Regions from separate parts of the Homo sapiens genome. Here region 1 is linked to region 2. Evidence: promoter capture Hi-C in human tissues and cell types (Jung and others, 2019). All regions are on one chromosome and are shown on one strand. Each heading gives the region's core, a stretch centred on a gene start or on the middle of the fragment in contact. The rest is flanking DNA. Distances are from core to core; before and after follow the strand shown. Region 1 overlaps CARINH (colitis associated IRF1 antisense regulator of intestinal homeostasis). Region 2 holds the start of AFF4 (ALF transcription elongation factor 4).

The links. The method cuts DNA at HindIII sites, captures the fragments that hold promoters and counts their contacts. A contact is called where the count stands out against the background at its distance.
Region 1: a contact is called between a fragment that was not itself captured here and the fragment with the promoter of AFF4 in region 2, in 1 of the 25 tissues and cell types used here (hippocampus).

What each region holds. Positions count from the first base shown.
Region 1 is chr5:132,429,703-132,436,263 of GRCh38, reverse strand. All of the region lies in intron 2 of CARINH (colitis associated IRF1 antisense regulator of intestinal homeostasis), which reads right to left. Among named protein-coding and RNA genes, the nearest start is that of LINC02863, 6.3 kb to the right of the region's middle. The HindIII fragment of the contact is 9,906 bases long and covers 1-6,561 here.
Region 2 is chr5:132,960,788-132,966,950 of GRCh38, reverse strand. AFF4 (ALF transcription elongation factor 4) reads left to right here and starts at 3,317. Exons shown (of 21, transcript NM_014423.4): 1 at 3,317-3,692. It overlaps AFF4-DT (AFF4 divergent transcript), which reads right to left and starts at 3,139. Exons shown (of 2, transcript NR_186175.1): 1 at 2,817-3,139; 2 at 2,261-2,710. RefSeq lists a silencer at 3,023-3,862 and an enhancer at 5,789-6,163. The HindIII fragment of the contact is 9,387 bases long and covers 1-5,545 here.

The DNA.
Region 1 (6,561 bases), core at 1,771-4,270, 530 kb after region 2:
GGTGGGGAAACCCTAGGGTTTCCTCTGAGGGCCTGACAGTTTGAAGGGATTGAAAATGAGTGGAGGGTGTGGCCACCTCAGCTCTAGCCTCCTTCTGCTGAGGGACAGTGGCCAAGGAACATCCTCATAGATCCAAAGGAAGGTGGAGAGTCCCTCTTTGTCCTCTCCACCCACCTCATCCCCACCACGCCCTGATGTCACTCCCTGCTGTACCCACCCCGGAAACCCTTAGCCACTTCCCACAGGTCCACTCCCAGGGAAGTTCTTTAATTGGTGGATGTGGGAAAGAGGAAGAGGAAAAATATCATTTCTACCTTCCCAATTCCCTGTATCCCATGAGCCTCCAGTCTGAAAATGATTACCCATCTGACCTGGAGCTCTCATCCTAGGTATCATAATGGCTCTTCTTTTACCCATAAGGAGAATGGGTAATGAAGAAATGCAAAATCCCAACTCATGAAAATGTGGTTGAAAAAGGGAAGACCCATAAAAGTTCTCATTTGTTGACCAGAGACAATAAAGTGATTACTTAAAAAAAAAAAAACCCACCTCTGGGGTCTTTCCAAATCATGGAGAAAAATAAAAACAGGGGAAGACATGCTCTAGTCTTAAAACTCCAATGTGGCCCCAGACTGGTGAGCCCCAACAACAGTAAATACCCACCCTCAGCAGCCTTCTGCCCACCTCACCCCACCAATACTAGGTCCCAGACAAGTCAACAAACACTTATTGACCATGTACTGTGTGCTTCCAACCATTCCGGGAGTTGGAATTCTGCAACCTCAAGGTGCTTTGCGAGGAGCAGGGAAACAGCTCAGTCAACATTTACTGTGTGCTGACGTTTTGCTAGGTTTAGAGGAGGCAAAAATCTGAGAAAAAAACAGCTAAGAATACTCCAATCTGGGAAGTACTAATATACACATAGCACCATAGGAGCAAGGAACAATTAATTCTACATGGTGAGGTCAACCAGAGAAGATGATTTTTAAGTTGGGCCTTGAAAGCACATTAGGATTTTGCTGGGTATAACTGGGAAGGAGTGGCATTCCAGGCAGAAAGAACTGAGTGAGCAAAGGTCAGGGTTGGGGTTGGTATGGGCAGTTGGTTGTATGTGATACGGCGTGTAGTCAGGCCAGTGTTGCCAGAACACGGGGTCAGAGAGCAAGAGCAAAGGAGGTAAGGCTAAAAGGCAGGCTGCAGTTTATGGCAGCCACGAACACATGCCATTCAAAGGACCTGTTGCATGGAGTGCAGACAGCTGACAGGCTGCAGCCTCGGATCCACACCATTCAAGTCAGACCATGTTGCCTCCTGGGTGGCCCCCAGCCAATGACAGAACATGGCAGGGTTGCTCGGGCCTGTCCATTTCTGCCCAAAGTGCGACTCTTCTCCTGGGCAATCTTTGGCTGGAACTCCCCACTGGGCTCGTTGAGACACTCTTACAGCCGCATCACAGTCTGATGCTCTTTCAACAGAATTATCCTTCCCTCTCTTGCGTCCCAGAGTTAGATCTGGACTGCAGTCTGAAAGCTGTCTTTTCTCTCCGTACTTCTGCTCCTTTCTCCTTTATCTTTCATAGGCATTAGCTCTTCTTACCCCCAATAAATCTTCTGCACTTTTCATTCTGTTTTGGTGTCTGCTTCCCAGAGGACTCCAACTGAGAAGGAGCTTAGATGAATGTTTGGGTTTTGCTGACAGTGAGGAGCCACTGAGGTATTTTAAACAGGGCAAGCCATGGTCAGATCTGAGTTTCATAAAAGCAATTCTAGCACTAGGGTGAAGAGCCGGGGGGTGGGGAGACAGGGAAGCAACAGGCAATGAAAAGACCATTTAAAAGGACACTGCACTGATTGGTACAAGGTTTCAACAAGGGGCAACTGGAAGTATATACAACTTACTATGTATATACCCTTTAACTCAACAGTCTCAATTGTAGAAATCTATTTTATAGAAACACTAGCACAAATGCATAAAAGTATAAAAATGAGGATGTAGTGGCCTATAAATATTATCAGGACATTGAAAAACTTTGTGGTCATCTGTAGGGGAGGAGATGAACTAGCAGTACATCTACGTGGTGGAATACATACCAAGCAGCCTTTAAAAAGAAGACAGCAGGTCTCTATGTACTGTCATAGAGAAATATACACAATAGACTGCTATTTGTAAAAAGCCGGTTGCTAGCCGGGAGTGGTGGCTCACGCCTGTAATCCCAGCACTTTGGGAGACTGAGGCGGGTGGATCACCTGAGGTCAGGAGTTTGAGACCAGCCTGGCCAACATGGTGCAACCTTGTCTCTACTAAAAATACAAAAATTAGTTGGGCGTAGTGGCGGGTGCCTGTAATCCCAGCTACTTGGGAGGCTGAGGCTGGAGAATCGCTTGAACCTGGGAGGTGGAGGTTGCAGTGAGCCAAGATTGTGTCACTGCACTCCAGCCTGGGCAACAGAGTGAGACTCTGTCTCAAAAAAAAAAAAAAAAAAAAAGCCAGTTGCTGTACAAAGTATATAGCATGCTCCCATTTTCATGAACAAAGCTGTGCATACGTATATTTATAAAGATCCACATTTGTTTGTATAAATAAGTCTGGAAAGAGATATATCAACTGTTGACAGAGGTCACCTCTTGAAGGTGGTAGGGCTTTCACTTTTTACTTTCTATGTTGTTTTTATTTTCTTTGGTGCTTTTCTATAATATATTTTCTACTTCTTAAAATGATGAAGATGGTTCATTTCTCTTATCAGAACACAAAATTTTAATTTAAAAAGCTTCATATCTACTTGGAAAACCATATAAAAATTCTTTATATTGTATTTCCAGAGAAGAAATAACAAAAATCTCCTAGAATCGTTGAGAGGGCTGTCAGCGGCCTGGTCTCGGTAAAGAGAAATTAGAGATGAGTTGGAATAGAGCCGAACACAGGGTGGTGAAGACAGAAGTTCCAGAAGAAGCCAAGAGTGCTATCTTGAGTAGTGGGCAGGTGACCCACAGAAGGGCGGTGGGTGGGAAGTAGGAGTGAGAGGGGTCTGTGCTGAATGTGCCAGCCTTCAGGAGGCTCAGGCCAGGACAGGGTGTATAAACAAGAGGTGACGCTGGCTCCTGCTTTAGAACTCAGGAGAGTATTTAGGCCTAAACACTTATGACCTACAAAAGATTAAAAACTTACCAACAGTACTCACCAATGGACTAAAACGCTAATTGTAAACAGTGAAGTCATTGAAAAACCAGAAAAATATTGGTGAATACTTATCTAAGGGGGGAAGAATTTTGGATAAAAGAGCAAACAGCATTTTAAAGAAATTTTAGCCATATTAAAAACAAACACCAAGACTTTAAAAACAGAACTCATAAACAAAATCAAAAGACAAGCAAAAACAAGGAATTATATTTACAGCAACACTGACAGAAAGGACATGTCCTTCATATATAAAAAACATATGGTTGGGTGTGGCTCATGCCTGTAATCCCAGCACTTTGAGAGGCCAGCATGGGTGGATCACTTGAGGTCAGGAGTTTGAGACCAGCTTGGGCAACATGGTGAAACCGTGTCTCTACTAAAATACAAAAATTTAGCTGGGCATGGAGGCTTGCGCCTGTAATGCCAGCTACTCAGGAGGTTAAGGAAGGAGAATCGCTGGAATTGAGGAGGCAGAGTTTGCAATGAGCTGAGATTGCACCACTGCACTCCAGCCAAGGAGACAGAGTGAGACTTCATATAAAAAAAAAAAGCAAAAAACAAAACAACAACAACAACAAAACCCAAAAAACACAGATGAGTTTGTAATCAGTAATAAAAATACACTCTCCAAAGAAAAACAGCACTGGAGCTGGGCATGGTGGTATGTGCCTGTAATCCCATCTACTCAGGGGGCCAAGGTGGGAGGATTGCTTGAGCCCAGGAGTTCAAGGCCAGCTTGGGTAACACAGCAAGATCCCATCTCTATAAAAAATAAGTTAGCCAGGTATGGTGGTGCACACTTGTAGTTCTAGCTACTCTGGAGGCTGAGGTAAAAGGATTGCTTGAGCCCAGGAGTTCGAGGCTGCAGTGAGCTATGATTGTGCCACTGCGCTCCAGTCTGGTTGACAAAGCAAGGCCCTGTCTCTTAAAAAAAGAAAGAAAAAGAAAAACAGCATTGATTATGGTATTGTGTATTATAAACATTATTTTGTATTGGTTAGAATTTTGTTCAGTTACATAAAACAGAAAACAATAGTGGCTTAAGCAAGATGGGATTTTCTTTCTTTCTCTCACTGAAAAAAAAGGTCTAGAAATGATCAGTTCAGGGCTGGTTTGGTGACTTCAGGTGTCACCAGGGACCTACGCTTCTTCTGGCTCATCCTGCCCCTATTCCTAAAGTGCAGCTCTCATTCTCATGTCTTGTGGTAGTTGCTAGAGTGATAGTCACCACATCCTCATTTAAGAAAGTAGGATGGAGAAAGGAGGGTGAATAAAGGGCACACCCCCTCCTGTTAAGGAGCTGGCTTCGAAGTCCCATATGACACCCACTTGCATCCATTGTCCGGAACCCAGCCACATGATCACACTTTGCTGCAAAATTGCCAGGGGAACGTAGTTTTCAGCTGGGTGGAAAAGGGATCAGCAAAAAATTGGTTTTGTTACTAAGAAAGAGGGAATGGATACTGTAGAGCAATGAGCAGTTTCTAACATACATGTGAACAAAATTATCAAAAGAAATACAAATGTAAAAGATTTCAGGGTCAACCTTACCAACAGTCAAATATAAGTAAAGCAGGTGGCCTTTTATGGTCTTGTCTGGCTAAGGTATTGAAGAGCTGGCCAGACAAGTCATGAAGACAGTCAAGAACTGACTGTCTTCATAAGGACCGACTGTCTTCATAAGAACCTTGGGACAATGCACATGAACAGAACAGAGTTTCAGGGTAAAAATGGCCCTTTCTCCCCAACTAGATGGCTCAAGGACCCAAGGGCCACTTCCTGGCTGTTCCCCCAAAGTCTCCCTCCAACTCCCAAGTGACATCAGATTCTGTAAATGCTGGGAAGTAGAGAAAAATTCTGTACCCAGGGATTCTCTAACTAAACTATGGCTAAAATTAAATTTTAGGTGTTTTTGAAAGTTCCTTTAAAAAAGTAATATCCTCATGCAAACTGAATCAGCAGTTTCAGAACTTAAAAAAAAAAAAAGAACCTCTGTCGTATTCTTGGGGTATCACAAATTAAACATGAAAACCAGCCACTAAAATAAGGACCAGTGTTTGGATACTACATGGGGGTGATGTTAGGCAACCTCAAGTTATGTCTTTTGGCAGATTCAGGACTTTATGTGAGCTCCCACAGATGGTGATGTCAATGCCACCACCCTTCAGAAGGCACAGAGAAGGAAAGTGCAGAGGACACGGCAAGTGTGGATTCCACAGGCTTCTGAAGTTCATAGGCCTATTTTGAATAGTTATTGTGCCTTTCTCAATCCAGACCAGCATCAGTTACCTCTCACGATTTATTTGAAAGCATTTACTTCTAGTGTTTGCTCTTTTTAAATGGTTGCTGATTGGGAAAAATACCAGAGTAAACTGATGTTTCATGAAGTCTGGGGGAGACGATCTTTAGGGCATGGGAAGCAATATGATATAATGACGAAACGTGCCCATGCTTTGGAATCAGAAACACCTGGATTTGAGACCTAGCTCTGTGGTTTACCAGCTGTGTGTTCTGGGACAAGTTATTAAACTTCTCTGGGGCTCAGGTTACTTGTCTTAAGATGGGCTAATACAGTGCTTACCTCGTTGTATCATCAAGTTGGGTAGGAAACAGATGGTGAACTTGGACTGGGACTGTTTACAAAGGTGTGGGGAGGGCTCAGGGAAATCAAGATGAGACAGTGAAGCATATGGGGGCTAGCAACAATGGGGAGCTGTTACCACTTGTAACCTGAAGGTATGAAGGAAGGGAATAAATGGGTAAGGGGACCCAAAGGAGGCAGCTATTGGAAGGGTGTCTGGCAGGAGCTGTGGGCTCCAGTGGAGGATGCAGTTGGCCTAAAGCGACCTGATAGGGACCCGGGGGAATAACTTAACCACTTGCCCTCCTCGGGGAACTCCTGACCTCATCTTCCTGAGTCCTTCCATCTCTTGCTAATGCTCCCCATGGACCAAATCTAACTAGAATCCAGAGGCAAGATAGATGAGTGATGTGGCCCATTCAGGTCAGCCTCCCAACCCAGAGCAGGTAGAGAGGACGGAGAGTGGATCTGCAGGGGCAAACAGAAGATTAATCAAAATAGAGACTGTGATGAGGTTAGCATAATGCCTGGAACATAGTAAGTCCACAAGTCCTCAACAAATGTTAATTTATTTTGGACTTTGGACTCTCTGTCTGCCTGTTTTGCTTATTGCTTACTTCCTGGTTTTCATCAGCTCATGTATAGTTGAGATAACTTCCAAATAATCAAGTATTGTTATCTATATTGGAGTGTTTTGAAGGAGTAATGAGTGTATAAAAAAGATAACCAGATACTCTGGGGATTAGAGATGACAGAGGGAAACAGAGGAAGGGGAGTAAGTAAGAGAAAAGGATGGAGAAAAC
Region 2 (6,163 bases), core at 2,068-4,567:
CAGGCTGGTTTTGAACTCCTGACCTTGTGATCCACGTACCTCAGCCTCCCAAAGTGCTGGGATTACAGGCATGAACCACCGTGCCCGGCCTTTGTTTCTCTTTTAGTTTTATGGTACGTCATTTTCTGCAATTTCTCCATTCTGCACAGTAGTCTTACACTGTTCTAGAACATGAAGTTAGAGACAGAACATTCACTTTGTTAAAACAGATGTAACTTCTTAAACAAAATGATACAATATTAAAATATTAAAAACTTAGAAATAATTTTAGGAACTTTTTCTTTTATTTGCTGAAACAGAGGAAACTTTTTTTTTGAGATGGAGTTTTGCTCTTGCTGCCCACGGTGGAGTGCAACAGCAAGGTTTTGGCTCACCACAACCTCGGCCTCCTGGATTCAAGTGATTCTCCTGCCTCAGCCTCCTGAGTAGCTGGGATTATAGGCACTGGCCACCACGCCCAGCTAATTTTAGTATTTTTAGTAGAGACTGGGTTTCCCCATGTTGGTCAGGCTGGTCTGGAACTCCCGACCTCAGGTGATCTGCCTGCCTTGGCCTCCCAAAGTGCTGGGATTACAAGCATGAGCCACCACACCTGGCCGGAAACTTCTTATTTGCAGAATAATGCCAAATAAAAGGCTATACTGGCCATTCCTCCCCTTTTTGGTTTTTAAATAAGGTTTCATTTTGTATTGAAAAAGTATCACTATCCTTTATGGAACAAAAGCATATTATTATTTGCGTTAGCCAAATAACATTTACTTCAGAATAAGCAAGGAAACTTAAAGTTTGTTACATATTTTCAATTTGCACCTTAATACTCATCTTTAATCAAAATTATTATGGTGTGGCCGGGAGTGGTGGCTCACGCCTGTAATCCCAGCACTTTGGTAGCCCGAGGCGGGTGGATCACGAGGTCAGAAGATCGAGACCATTCTGGCTAACACGGTGAAACCCCATCTCTACTAAAAATACAAAAAAATTAGCCGGGCGTAGTGGCGGGCACTTGTAGTCCCAGCTACTGGGGAGGCTGAGGCAGGAGAATGGCGTGAACCTGGGAGGCAGAGCTTGCAGTGAGCCGAGATGGCGCCACTGCACTCCAGCCTGGGCGACAGAGCGAGACTCTGTCTCAAAAAAAAAAAATTATTACGGTGTAAAGTGACAAATATTCTTTTCTTTTGCCACTCTCCATCCCCTCAACCCTCCAACCTATACAGCCTTGTAAATCTTCTTAAGCAGAATTTGAAAGCAAGTAAATGAAATAGGCACAATTTCTGTGTAGGATAATTTGGTAATATCTATCAAAATTAAAAATCCTTTTGATCTAAAGATTCCAGGCTAAGGATTTATCATACAGGTATAATTTGCTCATTATATGGAGTTGTTTTTCGTTTTTAATTATTTTAACTTTTTTGAGACAGGGTCTTGCTCTGTCACTGAGACTGGAGTGCAGTGGTGCGATTAGGGCTCATTGCAGCCTTCATCTCCTGGGTACAAACGATTCTCCCACCTCAGCCTCTCTAGTAGTTAGGACCACAAGCCTGTGCCACCACAAACGGCTAATTTTTTATTTTTTGTAGAGATGGGGTCTCACTATGTTGCCCTGTCTTGTATGAGGTTATTCATTGCAGCTTAGCATGTAATAGTAATGGCTTGGCAACAAGCGGAATATCCACCTGTAGGGGATTGGTTAAATAAATTAGGATGTTTGCATAAGTGGAATATTATTCTGCCTCTAGGAAGAAAAAGGTAGTTCATTATATACTGATATGGCAGGATGTCCAAGACATTTTTTTCTTTTTTCTTTTTTTGAGACAGGGTCTCACTCTCATCCAGGCTGGATGGCAAGCTCCCGGCTCACTGCAGCACCGACCTCCTAGGCTCAAGTGATCCTCCCACCTCAGTCTCCAGAGTAGGTGGGACTATACGCATGCACCACCACGCCCGGCTAATTTTTGTATTTTTCATAGGGATGGGGTTTTGCCATGTTGCCGGGGTTGGTCTCAAACTCCTGGTCTCAAGCGATCAGCCCCCCTCGGCCTCCTAAAGTGTTGGGATCATAGGCCTGAGCCACTGTGCCCAGCCTATCCAAGATATTTGAAGTGAGAAAAAAAGGACTGAACAGCGTATATAGTGTGTTACCTTTTGTGTAAAAAGAAGTATCCCTATATTTTAATGTATTACTTACAAATATGTAGGGAAAGATACATTATTAAATGCTAAGTGATTGCCTTCCAGGACTGAAACAGCTAACAGACAGAGATGGGAGAATCAATTATTTTTTATTCTGTCATGTTTTGAGTTTTCTATTAAGACATTTCCTAATTTATATAGCTCTATAGAGAAAATGCATATAAAGAGTGAAGCTTAAAAGAAATAGTAGATGTTTAGAGGTGAAAGAAGTGTTCAGAATGATATGCTGAAGAAAAACATTAGTGGGCCGGGTGCGGTGGCTCACGCCTGTAATCCCAACACTTTGGGAGGCCCAGGCGGGTGGATTGGTTGAGGTCAGGAGTTCGAGACCAGCCTGGCCAACATGGTGAAACCGTGTCTCTATTAAAAATACAAAAATTAGCCGTAGGTGGTGGCTCCCCCCTTTAATCCCAGCTACTCCGGAGGCTGAGGTACTAGAATCGCTTGAACTCGGGAGGCGGAGGTTGCAGTGAGCCGAGATCCCGCCATTGTACTCCAGCCTGGGCGACAACAGCGAGATCTATCTCAATAAATAAATGAAAAGGAAAACATTAGTGGCAGAAGATGTTTAAATGACGAAGAAAGAGGGACGGTTTGGCTTCTTAGGGTAAGTTTACTGGAAATACCGAACAGCCTCCTGCGTCCTTTGCCTTTTTGCTGGACCTCTTGAGGACTCGAGGCTTCGACACCTGGAAGCAAGTCTAGGAAGCTCCGGGTTGGGCCGGATCCCCACCAGAGGCGAGGGGCGGAAGGCCTGGGTTTGTCACCTGAGCCCCAGAACCGGCATATCCGGTTCGGCCCGGCCCCGCCCTTCGGAACCTCACTAGCGGGCTACGCGCAGGAGGGCGTGAGCTCCCGGATGTGCAGGCCCTGTACTGCCGTGGCAGCCCTGCCGGACGCGGCCGCAGTGCCCAGAGGCTCAGGCCTATACCGCTCGGGCGGGTCCTTTGCCTGGCCCGGGTCATCAGACCCCACAGCCGGGAACGTCACCACCCCGGGCGTCGCCTCCCGGCCCAGCCGGCCCACAGACCCCCGCCCCCTACTCCCCCAGCGGGGAGGGGCGCAGAGGCATCACGTGACGCCCCGCACCCGCCCGGTCTTGGTCACATGGTGGCACGGCCGCTGCGTCAGTCACAGCCCTGGCTGCAGGAGTCCAGCTGCCGTCGCCGCCGCCAGCGGACGGGGCGGGGATCCTGGTGCCAGGTCTTCGTTAACCCGCCCCCGCCGCCTCAGTCAGCTGTCCCAGCCCGGGCCCGACCGTCATGGAGCGGTGCGGGGCCTACGCCTGTTCCGTGTGAGGCGCATCGCTGCCGCCGCCGCCGACGCCGCCTTCGTTTGTCGAGGCCTCCGGAACCCCCGCCGCCTCCCGGAGCCCCTCGCCCTTGGCAGCCTGTCACCGCCCCCTGGGCGGGCTCGAATGCGCGTCCGGTGAAGGTGCAGGCCCGGCGCCGCCACTGCCGCAGCCAGGAGATGGTTCGGGCCTAGCGGAGCCGGGACTGGAGGTAAGAAGGGCCGACAGACTGACCCAGGGCCGGGCCGGGCCGCGGGGGTTGTGGCCGGGGCCGGGTGGGGGTGGGGGCCCGCAAGTTCTGCGGGGAGCCTCGGGGAGACCCTCCGGGCTGGGGCTGCTCAATCAGGCGTCACCCCTCCTCTCATCTGCGCGTCCCACCCCACCACCTTCCCGCAAAGATAAGAAAATAAAAAAAGCTAACCCAATCCTAACAAAAATTCCCAGAAATCCATCCGTTTAGTGTTTCTCCTTTCCTCTTTCTTTCCTCAGACGTTCCATCGGCTGATTTGTTACTTTTTCATATCCTCCTCAATTTCAAATTATGTCTAATTAAAGAGAAAATAGGCCCAGATTCTGGCTAACATTACCCAGCTAGTTCTCGCTTTCCTTCTCGCGATCCTGCGCACCTCTCCCACACCCCCACCCCCGCAAAAAAAAAAAAAAAAGAAGGAAAAATTTCCGCCTTCGACTTGCGAAGGGGATTGACTAAAAATGGGAACGTGGGGGTATAATACTCGAATACCCTCCCCTACAACTTCTGAATCGGTCTGTTACCTAGTTATCCCAGTAGCTTGTGCGTGGATATTGATGTTTAGGCCTTTCCTCCAGCTGCCTGTGCTTGGGGTTAATCTCGTAATTGACGTCAGTGCTTTGTTCCTTCTACTTTGCTGTTCCTTCCACTCTTTGAGGATGGATCATGGAGTACAGGAGTTTTGGGAGTAACCTTATTGCCTTTTCGTTTACAAACAGTATTATTTTCAGGAAGTGGAAGTACGAATCTGAAATGTTTGTATATGGAGTTCAAGGCGAAGAGTTCGATTTAGGGTTCTCGTAGTTTTGTCAGTTGTAATTCAGAATTATGCGGTTTCTTCCCTGCTGGCCACATGGAAATTTTATACTAAGGCCAGTCACTTTTCCATTGACCAGTGTTTTTCTTGATGGAATCTAAGCTATAGGTGTCTGTGAATAGACTGTAAATGTAACATAAAATGTGTGCTGTTTTTCGGGCTCAGATATGAAAAGCGCAAAGCTTCGTTTCTGTATTGATTCTGCACTTCATAAAGTGCTTTTTAAAACTTAACTGGTCTTTAACTTATCAAAATTGAAATATTTATGAGAACTTTCTTAATTTGGGATTTGATAAAGAGCCTTTGTGGTCTGTGAGTCTGCCTAGAATCATCTTTGGTCATACGTGCATAAAGAAGTGTTGGCAAGTGGCCACTTGGTTTTCAACAAAGCTGGCTTCTTTAAATTTCTCAGATTCGTTTTCCTTATTATCACTGCATCTTTCAGCTCCTAAATATAAGAAAAATTCCCAGTAAGTTATTTTAAGTTATCTTTCAGAGTTAACTTACTAAAAACCTGGAAGCAGTCAAATTTTTCTTTTTTTATTACCAGCAGTTTCATTCAATTTGCGGTGGTTTGCAGGCTGGTACTTTGATTTTTGTTAACTCTCTAGAAACAGTAGGCAAATTTTACTTTAAATAAAATTTTGCTTCAAGTGGGGACAAGATGGGGTGTCTGAAAAAAGAGCCCAGCTGTGTTAATTGGAACATGATCTACAGTTTGGGAGTGTAAGGTGAAGCTGTGTAATTAAGAATTCTTAAAGATTGAATATTTTTGTTCTGAGTCACTTTCTACTTGTCAGATTCTCACATTCAGGTTGATACATTCTCTTCTGTGTACTCTTGAGTTATTGTACCCTTTTTGTAGCAATATATTCTGCAGCCGGGCCTGGTGGTTCACGCCTGTAATCCTAGCACTTTAGCACTTTGAGAGGCCGAGGTGGGCGGATCACCTGAGGTCAGGAGTTCTAGACCATCCTGGCCAACATAATGAAACCCCGTCTCTACTAAAAATACAAGAATTAGCCAGGTGTGGTGGTGCACACCTGTAGTTCTAGCTACTTGAGAGGCTGAGGCATGAGAACCAAATTAGCCAGACATGGTGGTACATGCCTGTAGTCCCAGCTACTCCAGAGGCTGAGGCACGAGAATCGCTTGAGAATCGCTTGAACTGGGAGGCGAAGGTTGCAGTAAGCCGAGATCACACCACTGGAATGCAGTGGCTCCATCTCTGCTCACTGCAACCTCTGCCTCCTGGGTTCAAGCGATTCTCCTGCCTCAGCCTCCTGAGTAGTTGGGATTGCAGGTACACACTACCATTCCCAGTTAATGTTTTTTGTATTTTTAGTAGAGACGGGGTTTCAGCAGGTTGGTCAGACTGGTCTCGAACTCCTGACCTCGTGATCCACACGCCTCGGCCTCCCCAAAGTGTTGGGATTACAGGCATGAGCACTGCGCCCGGCCAACCTAGGCGATGTCTCAAACAAGCAGAAGCCTACTATATGTTTTGCACTGTAATTTTCTTTTTTTCCCTGTCTCTTGCAGATATTGAGGGATGCATAATAATTTTCTTACAGATCTGTTACAGGGTCTTTGAGGAAGTACTATATTTATTCCT